2 separate regions of the Homo sapiens genome follow, and region 2 is linked to region 1. Evidence: promoter capture Hi-C in 16 types of primary human blood cells and fetal thymus (Javierre and others, 2016). All regions are on one chromosome and are shown on one strand. Each heading gives the region's core, a stretch centred on a gene start or on the middle of the fragment in contact. The rest is flanking DNA. Distances are from core to core; before and after follow the strand shown.

Evidence for each region. The method cuts DNA at HindIII sites, captures the fragments that hold promoters and counts their contacts. A CHiCAGO score of 5 or more calls a contact.
Region 2: a contact is called between a fragment that was not itself captured here and the fragment with the promoter of OBI1 in region 1, in 3 of 17 cell types (M1 macrophages, M2 macrophages and M0 macrophages). The highest score is 8.4, in M1 macrophages.

What each region holds. Positions count from the first base shown.
Region 1 is chr13:78,655,416-78,661,573 of GRCh38, forward strand. OBI1 (ORC ubiquitin ligase 1) reads right to left here and starts at 3,740. Exons shown (of 6, transcript NM_024546.4): 1 at 3,634-3,740. The coding sequence starts at 3,705. RefSeq lists enhancers at 2,148-3,108, 3,019-3,098. The HindIII fragment of the contact is 7,616 bases long and covers 2,044-6,158 here.
Region 2 is chr13:78,973,926-78,980,083 of GRCh38, forward strand. LOC105370273 (a long non-coding RNA gene) reads right to left here. Exons shown (of 5, transcript XR_942108.4): 2 at 5,720-5,810. Among named protein-coding and RNA genes, the nearest start is that of LINC00331, 140 kb to the left of the region's middle. The HindIII fragment of the contact is 1,356 bases long and covers 3,071-4,426 here.

The sequences.
Region 1 (6,158 bases), core at 2,490-4,989:
TTCTTCAGGCCACATAGAGCTCTTACTTACAATATTGGCAAAGTAACTAAAAACATTATTGGGTAGAGAAAATTCACCTTTAAAACTGAAGTAGAGACAGAGGTGTAAATTTTCCAATTTTAAGTGCAAAGACAAAGCATTAACAGGTGAATACCTGGGCTCTCTCTCCTTCCTCTCCATCCCCACTGGCATCTATCTCTTCAGATTTAATGCCCTGCCCTCATCTCTCCCCCTTCATGGTATCCACCTTGTGACCCTCCAGGGATAATGGTCCTTAATTCTGTTGAATAATCAAAAGAGAAGATGCTGACTGTGAGATCTGGGGACATATGGTAACAGTAGCACAAGAACAATTATCTTTAAAAAAGAGCTAGGCACGAAGGACCTTAGGAACATTCTTAGAAGTGGCCAGAGATGCTCTATGTCAGGGAAGCAGAAGCGAACCTGAGGACACGCCAGTTTTAGTATCTCACAGTATAATACGTGTAGGAGGGTGAGCAGCACAATCATACTGAATTTGCTTTCACTATAAAAAAGAAAAGAGACATGGAACCAGCTGAAAATTCTGGATGTACTGTGGCAATTTCCAGAACAAACAGGTCTCATTTGGTTGGGAATGCAAATCTTCATTTTGAAGTGCTCCAGCCTCACAAAGCAACTGGGAAGAACAATTACTGGAAAAGGCTGGTTTCCTCAGTTTGAGGGCTGGCCTCAATGGCTATAGTAAAAGCTAACAGTTATTAAACATTATGTGCCAGACTTTATGCTAAACTTTGCACATGCTTTGTTTAATCTTCTGAAAACTGAAAGGATGGGGAGTTGATGTTATTACCATATTTTTACTGTTACAGATAAGGAAACAGGCTCAAAAGAGTTAAGTAACTTAAGCTGGGAGTGGTGGCTCACGCTTGTAATCCCAGCACTTTGGGAGGCCGAGGCGGGCAGATCACCTAGTTCGGGAGTTCAAGACCAGCCTGACCAACATGGAGAAACCCCGTCTCTACCAAAAATACAAAATTTGCCGGGCGTGGTGGCGCATGCCTGTAATCCCAGCTACTCAGGAGGCTGAGGCAGGAGAATTGCTTGAACCCGGGAGGCGGAGGTTGCGGTGAGCCGAGATCGCGCCATTGCTCTCCAGCCCGGGCAACAAGAGCGAAACTCCGTCTCAGAAAAAAAGAAAAAAAAAAGAAAAAAAGTTAAGTAACTTGTAAAAGGTTGTATGAGTGGTAAGTGGTAGATTAGATTAGAACCCGGCTAGCCTGAATGTAGAACTCAGGCCCTCAGTCACATATCCTTTCTGCTTCCATGGTACCTGGGGGGGGGGGGGGAGGAGCCTGTTTAAAAATCCTTAATTAATTAATTTTCTTTTATTTTTAATTTTTTTTTTTTTTTTTTTTTTGAGACAAAGTCTCACTCTTGTTGCCCAGGCTGGAGTGCAATGGCGCGATCTCAGCTCACTACAACCTCCGCCTCCCAGGTTCAAGCAATTCTCCTGCCTCAACTGGGATTACAGGCGCCTGCCACCACACCCAGCAAATTTTGTATTTTTAGTAGCGATGGGGTTTCACCATATTGGCCATGCTGGTCTCAAACTCCTGACCTCAGGCGATCTGCCCGCCTCGGCCTCCCAAAGTGCTGGGATTACAGGCGTGAGCCACCGCGCCTGGCTTAACCTTTTTGAGCCTGTTTCCTTATCTGTAACAGTAGAAATATGGTAATAACATCAACTCCCCATCCTTTCTGTTTTCAGAAGATTAAATGAAGCATGTGCAAAGTTTAGCATAAAGTCTGGCACATAAGATTAAGACAAAAGTCTTAATCTTTTTATTTTTATTATCTGATTTTTATTTCAGAATAAAGTTAACCAATACAGGAAAAAAAAAACACTAAAAATGCCTGATGTCATGGATGAACTTAGGTGAGGGTTTTACGAAGTAATCTGAAGACAAATGGTAATAATGATAGAGGTTCAACTATGAAGACTCAAAGTCTTAGTATTCTGAAGACACAAATGATAGTATAGAGGTTCAACCACAGACTCTAAGCTTTAATATTCTTATTTTAAAAATGGAAAAACCAGCCCTATCTTAAAGCATTGGTGTGAAGAGTAAACAAAATAATATATGCATACAAAAGCACTCTGTAGTCTGCAAATCACTATATTCTATGAGGTATCACTCTCGTTAAATACAAAAAGTATAGGTTTGGTAAATCAAACAGAACACTGTCAATACAATTGCAAAAGACAGCCTATAACTAATGGAAACTATATATAATGTGTACAAAATACTTCCCAAGAATATTTTTATCAGCCTTTAAAGCCAGTGTTGGAGGAAATTAACTCAGAATTTAACACATATTTCCAGGAACTTTATGTCAGGAGCCAAATGTAGACTGTGGCAAATAGAAACATCGCTTCTTCCCTCCCCCTAGCCGTGCAGGCAGTAAGTAATAGCTCAATGCCAGCTCAAACACCATCCTCGATGAGGCCATCCTTGATCTCTCCAAATTGATCAAGCCATCCCCAATCCATGATCTCCCAGCACATTTGCTATTTCATTGGCATTTCATTCTGACTGCTATCCAGAATTATCAGTTGCTTCCAATGCTGACTTTCTTCTACTTTTTGAATCCAGTAAATTCACACAGAACTTCAAACACCCCAGGCAGATCGTATTGGCCGGCACTCAAATGCTTGCTCTAGAAGTTTGTATTTCTCAAATCTGAGTCTACGGCTCAGTCTGCGCTGGGGGGTAAACACACACCCTGACACACCACAGACGTAAAAATAATTCAGGGTGGAAAAAAGTTGGTGGTTTATCTTTCCCCTTCTTTATCTATTCGGTAAAGAAATGCTCTTTAAAACACCGAAAGTGAGGCACAAATGGAAATGAAAGAGGAGAGGAATGCATTAGAATATTCAAAGCTCCGTTTCTAATTCAGAACCACTTTCCCTACCTTGTTTCACAAACACACTAGGCACCTCTTGCATCACAAAGAGAGAGTATTCTATCTCCTGACTGACCCATTCTTGGAGTTAAAAGCCACACCTCTTATTCTAATACCCTCCAGGAGCACTTACTATTTACTTTTCAAATTAGGAATTCAGAGCAAAGGTCATCCTCAAGGCCAGGATAAAGGCAAAAGGTCTTGGAAATGGAAAAGACTCAATACACAGCACCGTAGGCCCCAGAGGATGAACACTAGTTACAGAGGACTAAGAAGCCCGAGGTGAGGCTCCCAGGAAATGTGTTTTAATGGGCTTCACTACACGCCACGCGAGGCTGCAGAGGGAAGTTAAATATCCCTGCGATGCGTTTCTGATGGGGCCTCCTTCGAGGCCGGTGTCTTGCCAGTGTGAGGCCGCGGGCGGTGGCAGGGCCGTCTCGCCGCCCTCCCGGCAGACCACGGGCCGCTGTCACCCTCCTCCGAAAGGCGCCCAGATGAATCCATTAATCACGGTGCGCTACCCCCATCTCCCAGGACGCGGCCTCCCATCAAGAACGCGGGTTAGCGTTTTCTCCCATCTCCGCGCCTCACGCCCCTTCCCCGCCCCCGCACGAGACGGCCCTCGGCCCCGGCGAGCGACTTATCCAACCCCGTTTTGTAGCTGTGCCCACAATCACCCATTACCTTCCCCAAGCAAATGTGGCACGTGATGGGCAGAGTGAGCGACAATGTAACATTCTGCACGGTCTGAGCCATGGCAGCGTTCAGAATCCCGCCAACACGGAAGTCCCGCCGACCTACCGCTACTCTTCGCCAAGACTGGGCACGCGCGGGCCGGCTACGGCGCCCCGGTAGGGCCATAACCCGCCCAGGAGAGAAAACGAAAACGCGCTTTCGAAACGCGCGATCTCCAAGGCGTTTTCCTTTCATTAAAAAAAAAAAAAAAAAAAAGAAAGAAAGAAAGAAAGAAAGAAAATTCACTGATTAGGGAGCTGCAAGATTCCTGCGAATGTGTAGGAAGGTAGTTTACTACAAGTATCGAGGATCTTGGAAAATCTAAAGGAAAGCGGAATAGTGGAGACAGAAGAGGAAGATACGGAAAGGCGATTTTTTAAATCCCCAAATTGTTTTCGGGGATTGGATGGGGTGAAGGATGGAGAGTTTTTCGCCTAATTATTAAACCCCACACATCCGCCAACACAGCGTAATCAAAACATAGAGAAAAGACATTATCTACACGTTTCAATTTTTTTCAAAACAGCTTTCCACCTCTGTCAGTTCTCTTTCCACTCAATATAATGTGCTTCCAGAGGGCACAATAATTCACTTAAGAAAACAGTGATTGTCTCCTTATCTGTGTCCGAGACGATCCTGATACATTTAATCGCAGCTTTCCCTGAAAATACATTTTTACTGTGGGCTTCTCTGGGTTTTCCACCAAAAGGAGATTAACGTTTTCACGTCTTCATTTCAGGTGCATGGTTGCATATGAAATGTACCGCTGTGTTGTTGAACCCCAAGGGAGAATTTGTGAGGTTATAAGTTGCGTTTCCTACCAACAAAAAAGAAAAAAACCTAAAAGTTCCTAAATTTATCTTAAATGCAGTATAACAAATTTGGAATTTATCTGCAACTTACTTGAAGCGAGGAAGAGCTGATGTGATAAATTACGCTAACAAGTAAAATCTGTGAGTTGAGAGATTTAAAGACAAGACCATCGGGACAACTTTTACTAATCTTTGTGAAAAAGACGCAGTATGACTTCAAGAAGCAGCCTCATGGTTAAGAGAAAGGGGTTCTGGACCTGGGCTGCTTCAGCGGAAATCCCTGCCCCCAACAACTTCCTACCTAAACGGTAGCTCCATGGCTTCTGGCAACTTTTGTTTTGTTTTTTGAGATAGGGTCTAGCTCTGTCACCACTAGGTGCCAACACAGCGACCTCCCAGGCTCAAGCGATCCCATCCGCCTGCCTCAGCCAGCCTCCCGAGTAGCTGGGATTACAGTCATGCGCCACCATGCTTGGCTAATTTTTGTATTTTTAGTAAAGACGGAGTTTCACCCTGTTGGTCAGGCTGGTCTCCAACTCCTGACCTCAAGTGATCCGCCTGCCTCGAGGGTCGGGGAGTGGTTTCCCCATGTTGCCCAGGCTGGTCTTGAGCTCCTGGGCTCAATGGATCCCCCCTCCTTGACCTACCGACAGTGCTGGGATTACAGCCGTGAGCACTATTCTGCACTCTACTTCTGTGAGATCAACTTTATTAGATTGTACATGTGAGATCATGTGGTAATTGTCTTTCTGTGTCTGGCTTGTTTCACTCAACACAGCGTCCTCCAGGTTCAACCATGCCGTTGCAAATGACAGGATTTTATTATTTTTTATGGCTCAATAGTATTCTATTGTAAAGACATTTCTTTTCAAAACATTTCCCATTACTTAATGGGGCAAGTTCATTTCCTTGTAAATCATCTTGTTGATGGGTGTCAATATGTAGTCACAAAGATAATTTTAAAAATCATATCCTGCATTTTAAGTAAAGTATTAAAATTTAGACTATCTCTAACATCTCTTTCCACATTTCATACCATTGTCACAGCTTCTCAGTGTTTCAGTGCACAGTCCATACAGCCATTTCTGTGCTGATGACATTGTATTATAGTTGGTGATGTGTTTGTCCCCACAACAGGCTATGTTTCTTGAGGTCAGGGATTGCATCCAATTTATCTAATGTCTGTAATAGGTTACTGTTCCACAAATAGTAATATTCTCATTTGCTACAGCCTACCTTTATAATAAACTCAGGCTGTTTTATTTTAAACAATTTCTTTACTTGTTTTTAATCTCAAAATGGAAGATTCTATTGCTTTTTGAGAATTATAAAAATAACACATGCTCATTTTAAGAAAAACAAGCCATTAAAAAGTATATAAAATAAGTAAAAGTTCCTCCATATTTCTGCCTCACCTCTGTATCCAGTGTAGAAATCACTATTAACATTCTAGAACATATCCTTAAAACATACTAATTCATCTATTACTGTATACATAAGCACAAACAAGGTCATAGCATAACATACCTGCTTTATTCACTTAATGTTTTATGAATCAATACACATATGCCCTCACACATGCACACACATATCCAAATAATATTGTTAGCAATATAGATTGATTAGGACTCTTCCTCAGTCCAGATGAATGCCAGGCTAGTT
Region 2 (6,158 bases), core at 2,499-4,998, 320 kb after region 1:
AGGTCATGAGTTCAAGACCAGTCAGGCCAACGTGGTGAAACCCCGTCTCTACTACAAATACAAAAAAAAAAAATTAGCCAGGCGTGATGGTGCACACCTGTAGTCTCAGCTACTCAGGAGGCTGAGGCAAAAGAATCACTTGAACCTAGGAGGCAGAGGTTGCAGTGAGCCGAGATCACACCACTGCACTCCAGCCTGGGAGACAGAGCAAGACTCCATCTCAAAACAAATAACAATAACAGAAAAGAAAGTCTATTTATGTTGCATTCTTATCTGCTGAACATTAGAACACAGGGCTGTCCCACGTTCATTATGAAATTGAAAAATCTTTAATAACAAGTAATTGAAAAAATCATTTTAACTTTATTTGATTACTACTGAGTAATTTTTATATCTTTATTGTCCATTATATTAACTATTTTGTTTCTTAATTGTTAATAGTTGTTGCCTACTTTTCTATTGGCACATTGAGGATTTTCTAACTAGCCTCAAATATTTCTTATTCATTTAGGATGGTAGTTCTGTGTCTGTTACATTCACTGCAAGTATTTCTCCCAATTTGCCAACGGTCTTTTTATTTTTTATGACTCTTTTACATACAAGAGTTAATTTTTTTCACTTAAAATATCTATTTTCCTTTTCCTTCCTTTTGTGCTTAAAAGTCCTTTACATACTTGAGATCAATTAAATAGTCACTGTATTTTCTTAGCTTGTTTTGGTTTCAGGTTTTACATTTAAGTCACCAATTTATTTTATACTTATTGTGGCTCATAGTGCCAGTTGAGTATTAACTAAAATGATTTCATCTGTAAAAGGAAAGGCTAACTGAGAGTAAAATAAGGAGGGACCTCAAACAGTAGAGGGAGTATCACACGAGTGAAGTTCCATCTCCTCACCTGCAAACCAAAAGATACGACTACCTGACAGTGGGGAAGAAATGAGACTTCATAAAATGCTTCACATAATAGTGAGTGACATAAAAGGACACTGAGGTCTTTCCAAACAATTGTTTTTAAACATCATTTGGTATGTGATACTTTCTTATTAGAAAAGAAGTTATCCTAGGTCTGCTGAAAGACTATATCTTCAATTTGCTGATTTTTCTGTAATTCTTCCTCCACTGCTGCAGTTTTATTAGTCTGTTTTATAACAAGTAAAAGAAGTCCCCTGAAGACCAGCCTGGCCAACATGGTGCAACCCCATCTCTACTAAAAATACAAAAATTAGCTGGGCATGGTGGTGCACACCTGTAATCCCAGCTACTCAGGAGGCTGAGGCAGGAGAATCACTTGAACCCGGGAGGCAGAGCTTGCAGTGAGCGGAGATCCCGCCACTGCATTCCAGACTGAGTGACAGAGCGAGACATTTTGTCTCAAAAAACAAACACCTGAATCCTTTTTATTTTTTGAAGGGTTCTTAATTATTTGTTTTATTCTTTTGAATGAATTTAATACTTGTATTATCTCCCTCCACTCCAAACCCACTGGGATCTTTGTTGTAATTTCCTTAAATCTAAAAATTAAATTGTAAAGATGTGCCATCCTTATCATATTGATTTACCCATAAGGAAAGAAAAATAATGGCTAAGTTTTGTGAGGGCTTGCCATATGCCATGTGCCAATACCAGGTATTTTCACCACCAAACTCATATTATCTCCACAACAGTTTTCAGAAGAAAGTACACATTTACAAATGAGGGCACTCAAGCACAGTGAGGAAAGCAATCCTTCAAAAACATCACTGGCCTAACTAATTGCGTGTTTGTTTTTCTTTGGTACACATTATCACAGCCTACTCTCTACCTCTTTCCCACTTTCTCATCCTCACATTTTTTTCTATTTTTCCATTCCTTTCCAAATTCTCCTTTTTTTATGAGACAGTCTCACTCTGTCACCCAGGTGGGAGTGCAGTGGTGCGATCTCAGTTCACTGCAACCTCTGGCTTCAGGGTTCAAGCGATTCTCCTGCCTCAGCCTCCTGAATAGCTGGGATTACAGGCACATGCCACCACACTCAGCTAACTTTTGTATTTTTTAGAAGCGATGGGATTTCACCATGTTGGCCAGGCTGGTCTTGAACTCCTGACCTCAAGTGATCCTGCCACCTTGGCCTCCCAAAGTGCTGGGATTACAGGTGTGAGCTGCCGCACCTGGCCCCAAATTCTCCTTTCTGTATCTACTTTGTCTTCCTCATTTTTCACGTACATAATTGATTATATTATACTACTAAGAAGTTTAAATTTAATTGATTTGAATTATTATACTTTATTAAGGAAACAGCATAAGGGCTCTCCTGACTTTTGTTGCAAGCCAGCCTTCTTTATCACACCCTCAACAACATCTCCACAAAAAGAAATCTACAACTTCTGATGTAGACTCTGGAGCTAAATAGAAAATCAGAATCTATAAGACACAGGGAAGAGAGAAGAGGGAGCAGAAGGAAAGTTTCAAGATTTATTTCTACCACCTACGTTTAATTTCATGGAACCTGAGAGCTTATTTGTTCGCTTTAACATTATTTAGCACCTACTGTATACTGGCATGAGAATCCTGAGGCTTTATCGTTTATCTGTTAGACCTACTATGGTGTTATTCAGTTGGAGAGGAGGAAAACCTCCTGGTTCCTAAAGCACCCAGGCTATGTCAGGGAGGAGTGGAGCACTGTCTCCACTTGGCCCCTATAGAAGTAAATCTTCACTTCACCACTTATCCTTGAGCAGAAGAGGACTGTAGTTGATGATTCACATGAGAGGATGACAATTCAATCTCAATTAGCGTAGATTCTTGAAACATTTCCAGGTTGAAGTAGCTATTCTCAGCCCTCCATAGGCTGGACTGTCCTCCCCAGAGGACTTCTTAGAATTCAATTCTGGCCCATGAGACCAACACCAGATCTAAGCCTAGCTGGGCGTACCTGAAGCCTCAGCATGCCCCAATGTAACATGCAGGCGTTTGGCCATATGGTGTCCCCTGAGCTTGCCGTTCTCTGATTTATGCCAGAATGGGCATATGCTGGGATATTTCAGGACCCTGAGGGGAGAGTCAAAATGTCACACAGCCAGTATGAGGTTAAGCTTCCATTTCTGTGGTTTATGGCTTAAGTAGAAATGGAACCGGAGGGGACAAAAAAATGCCATTATTGATTCTAAAGCCTAGAAGGTTGAGGTTAGGGCATATAAGATAAAACGTTTAGGTTCTCTGAGGTGTGACCTATTTATACCTGTAAAATAGCCTTCAAAAATGTCCAACAAGGAAAAAGATGTATATTTGTATATATTACCCACTTGGCTTCACTTAAGCCTACTTTCTTCATATTCTGTAAAGAGAAATATCTAGAATCTGGTTTTTAAGTGGTGCCTTTTTTTTTAAGGGGGACTTAGTAGGGAAGGGTGCTCATAGGAATGAGTCATCGCTTCAGGATTTATGCTTATTAAAAAGTAAATATAGACTTTTCTCTGTGTTGCTATTTGAACTCCCCATGACTAAGTGATGGTTTAGTTCAACCAATGTTAGATGCCGCCTATACGTAGGGGCTAAGTATGCTTCCCAGTTGGAGAGGGTTGCCCTCCCAATAAGCATTCTGACAGGCATATTGGACTAAGGACAGAGGACATCATGTGGGGGCAGGAAGGCTGCCAGATGGCAGAGGCAGAAGGAGAGAATGCATAGAAGGCCAAGTGAAAGGAACAATTTACAGGGAACTCCCCCATTTGTGGAGAGGTGTGAGCATGGAAGCATGGAGGGATAATGTGGAAGGGAGCTGTCCCAAATATTGGAAAACAGGAGGTCCATTTTCAATCTAGACCTTCCACCTAAATGAACAAGAAATAATAAATACAAGAATTCACATCAGGGAAATTGGTTTTATTCACAATTGAAGGGTAACTAATTTTAAAGAGTTTACTTGGTGGCCATGAGAAGTGTACGTTTTGGGTATAAAAATGATGCCAATTGCCAGCACTCACAGGTTGTGATGAAATGTTGCCAACTTTTTTACACACTGTTCATTTTTACCATTAAGGCCTCTCATGAATCTTAATAAATCCAGTTTCATAAAATACAAAGGCATGCTCTCTTTTCTCTTAAAGAAAGAAAAATACTAGTGAATTCATGGCCTTTTCTTTATAATGGAACCTGCAATATAAATCTAATGTTTAACGCATCAGAAATTTATAATTTCCTTTTGAATTATATGAATGCACACCACTCAATACTAGTAATTCATTTTGTTAGTTTTGATCAAAGAGTTAATTACTATTTGAATGAAACTCTACTAATGAATGAATATAAAATTAAGATCTTCTCATGATGGCAATCGGTTACAAATAAGACATAAGAAAGATGCAAATCATGAGGCTCCATTTAGGTTTCATGAACCAAGTGCTTCTAACAGGAAGATAAATACAGAGCAATATTCAAGTCCTCTGAAGCTTAAACCAAAACAATATTAATTGTATAGGTGGGGAGGGGAGAGGGGATAAAAAGAAAATGGAAACAAGCAAAGAGTTCTCAGTTTTCAGGCATAGGAAGAGGTTTGTTTATATGTAGTTGAGGACAGACACAAATGCATAAATGAATGTATATAGTGCAATCAGCAGTTATCACAAATCTGCTTGGATTCAACAGTAGAGCTGACAGAACTTGGTCAATGTTAAGACTGTGCCACCTTCTGGTTGTCATGTGTATGACAGGTGTTCATATTGTTTACAGACTAGCATTTCTGTATTATGCAAAACTTATATTGAAGGGAAACAGCAGATCCATTCCTGGTGCTGTTCACTTTCTCCCCTGGGGACTGTATTGGAATGAGAACACGATCCATAAATGTACTCCAGTGACTGCTTTGCTTGAAAATCTGAGTTTGCTTTTTAAGCTTGATCAACTGTAATGGTATATGATAGTCCAGACACAAGCTCAGACAGCACTGCAGTTGTGAAAGCAGGAGATTTGGTTGCTTGTCTTTTCCCTGGTTGCCACTTTCTGAATTTCTTAGAGCCAGAGAAATGGAGCTCCAGCAACCGAAACAAGGCCTCTGTCAATCAAATAAATCAGATGGGGGAATATACTGTTGTGTCTGCAAAGCTGCAAAATAATAAATACACGTGTAGCCTAATTTCTGTGCAACTGTTAACATGCAATTGGGGCCAAAAGATGATTTGAGGGATTATGTTATGCTTAAATTCCTCCACAGTCTCAGTCGGATCAATTATGGGATCACGGCTTTTGGAGTCCTGGCTGGATGCTAACATACCTTTGCCACCAAGCTGAGCATCCTAGCTGAAGGACTTCTAGAGGATCCATGGCCACTCATTTCATAAATGTATCTGCTGTAATTTGTATTTGAAACACTGGAGTTTGAAAAGGTAGTCCCAAAGGAAAGGTATTGTTTTTTTCATGTGCATTGCTTAGGGGTTTGTGTCTTAAAATTAGCCCTGGAAACCTTAAAATCCTATAATATTTTAAATGTGTCTAAAGAGGCAAGTAGATTTACAGAGACAGAGTAATCTTAATTGAGTAATTGTTCTTTACACTTTATCATTGTAGCCTGCTAAGTTTCTTGGGTAGGGTAGGTGGCCCTCTCCCACACTACCTTCTCCCTCTTCCCCTATTCCATCTGACGCCCACACTGCCCACCCTCTGCACCCACACATACACTCTCAGCCCTGAAAACAAACAGAAAACCAAGAATACTTTTACCCACAGAAAGAAGTGGTACTTTACCGTAATGACCGAGATGATTTCTTCGACTTTCTATTTCACCTTGCCTATGATGATCGAAACAAACTTTTTGCAAATTCAGGCTTTTCTGAATCTGCAAATAAAGTGATCGAGAATGAAATAATCGGAAAAAAATCAAAATGCAGGTTTGCTTTAAAACACAAAATTCAGCTGCTGTTACTGTCCTACATTATCACCCTAAATTGATATTGGGATTGGCTTTATGTAAAATTTGATTATGAAGAATAAAGTCTTCAAAGACAAGTTTTTTAAGAGTATCCTAATTTGTGATTACTTATCCTTCTTCATTGAAGGGTATACATGGCTGCTTTGCAGTGTTTACAAAACTAAAAGAACAACAAGATCAAAGTGTGAGGTTGGTAGGGATGTGAATATAAGATGCAAAGAAAACCACTTGAAAATTGATTAAATATCAGTGAAA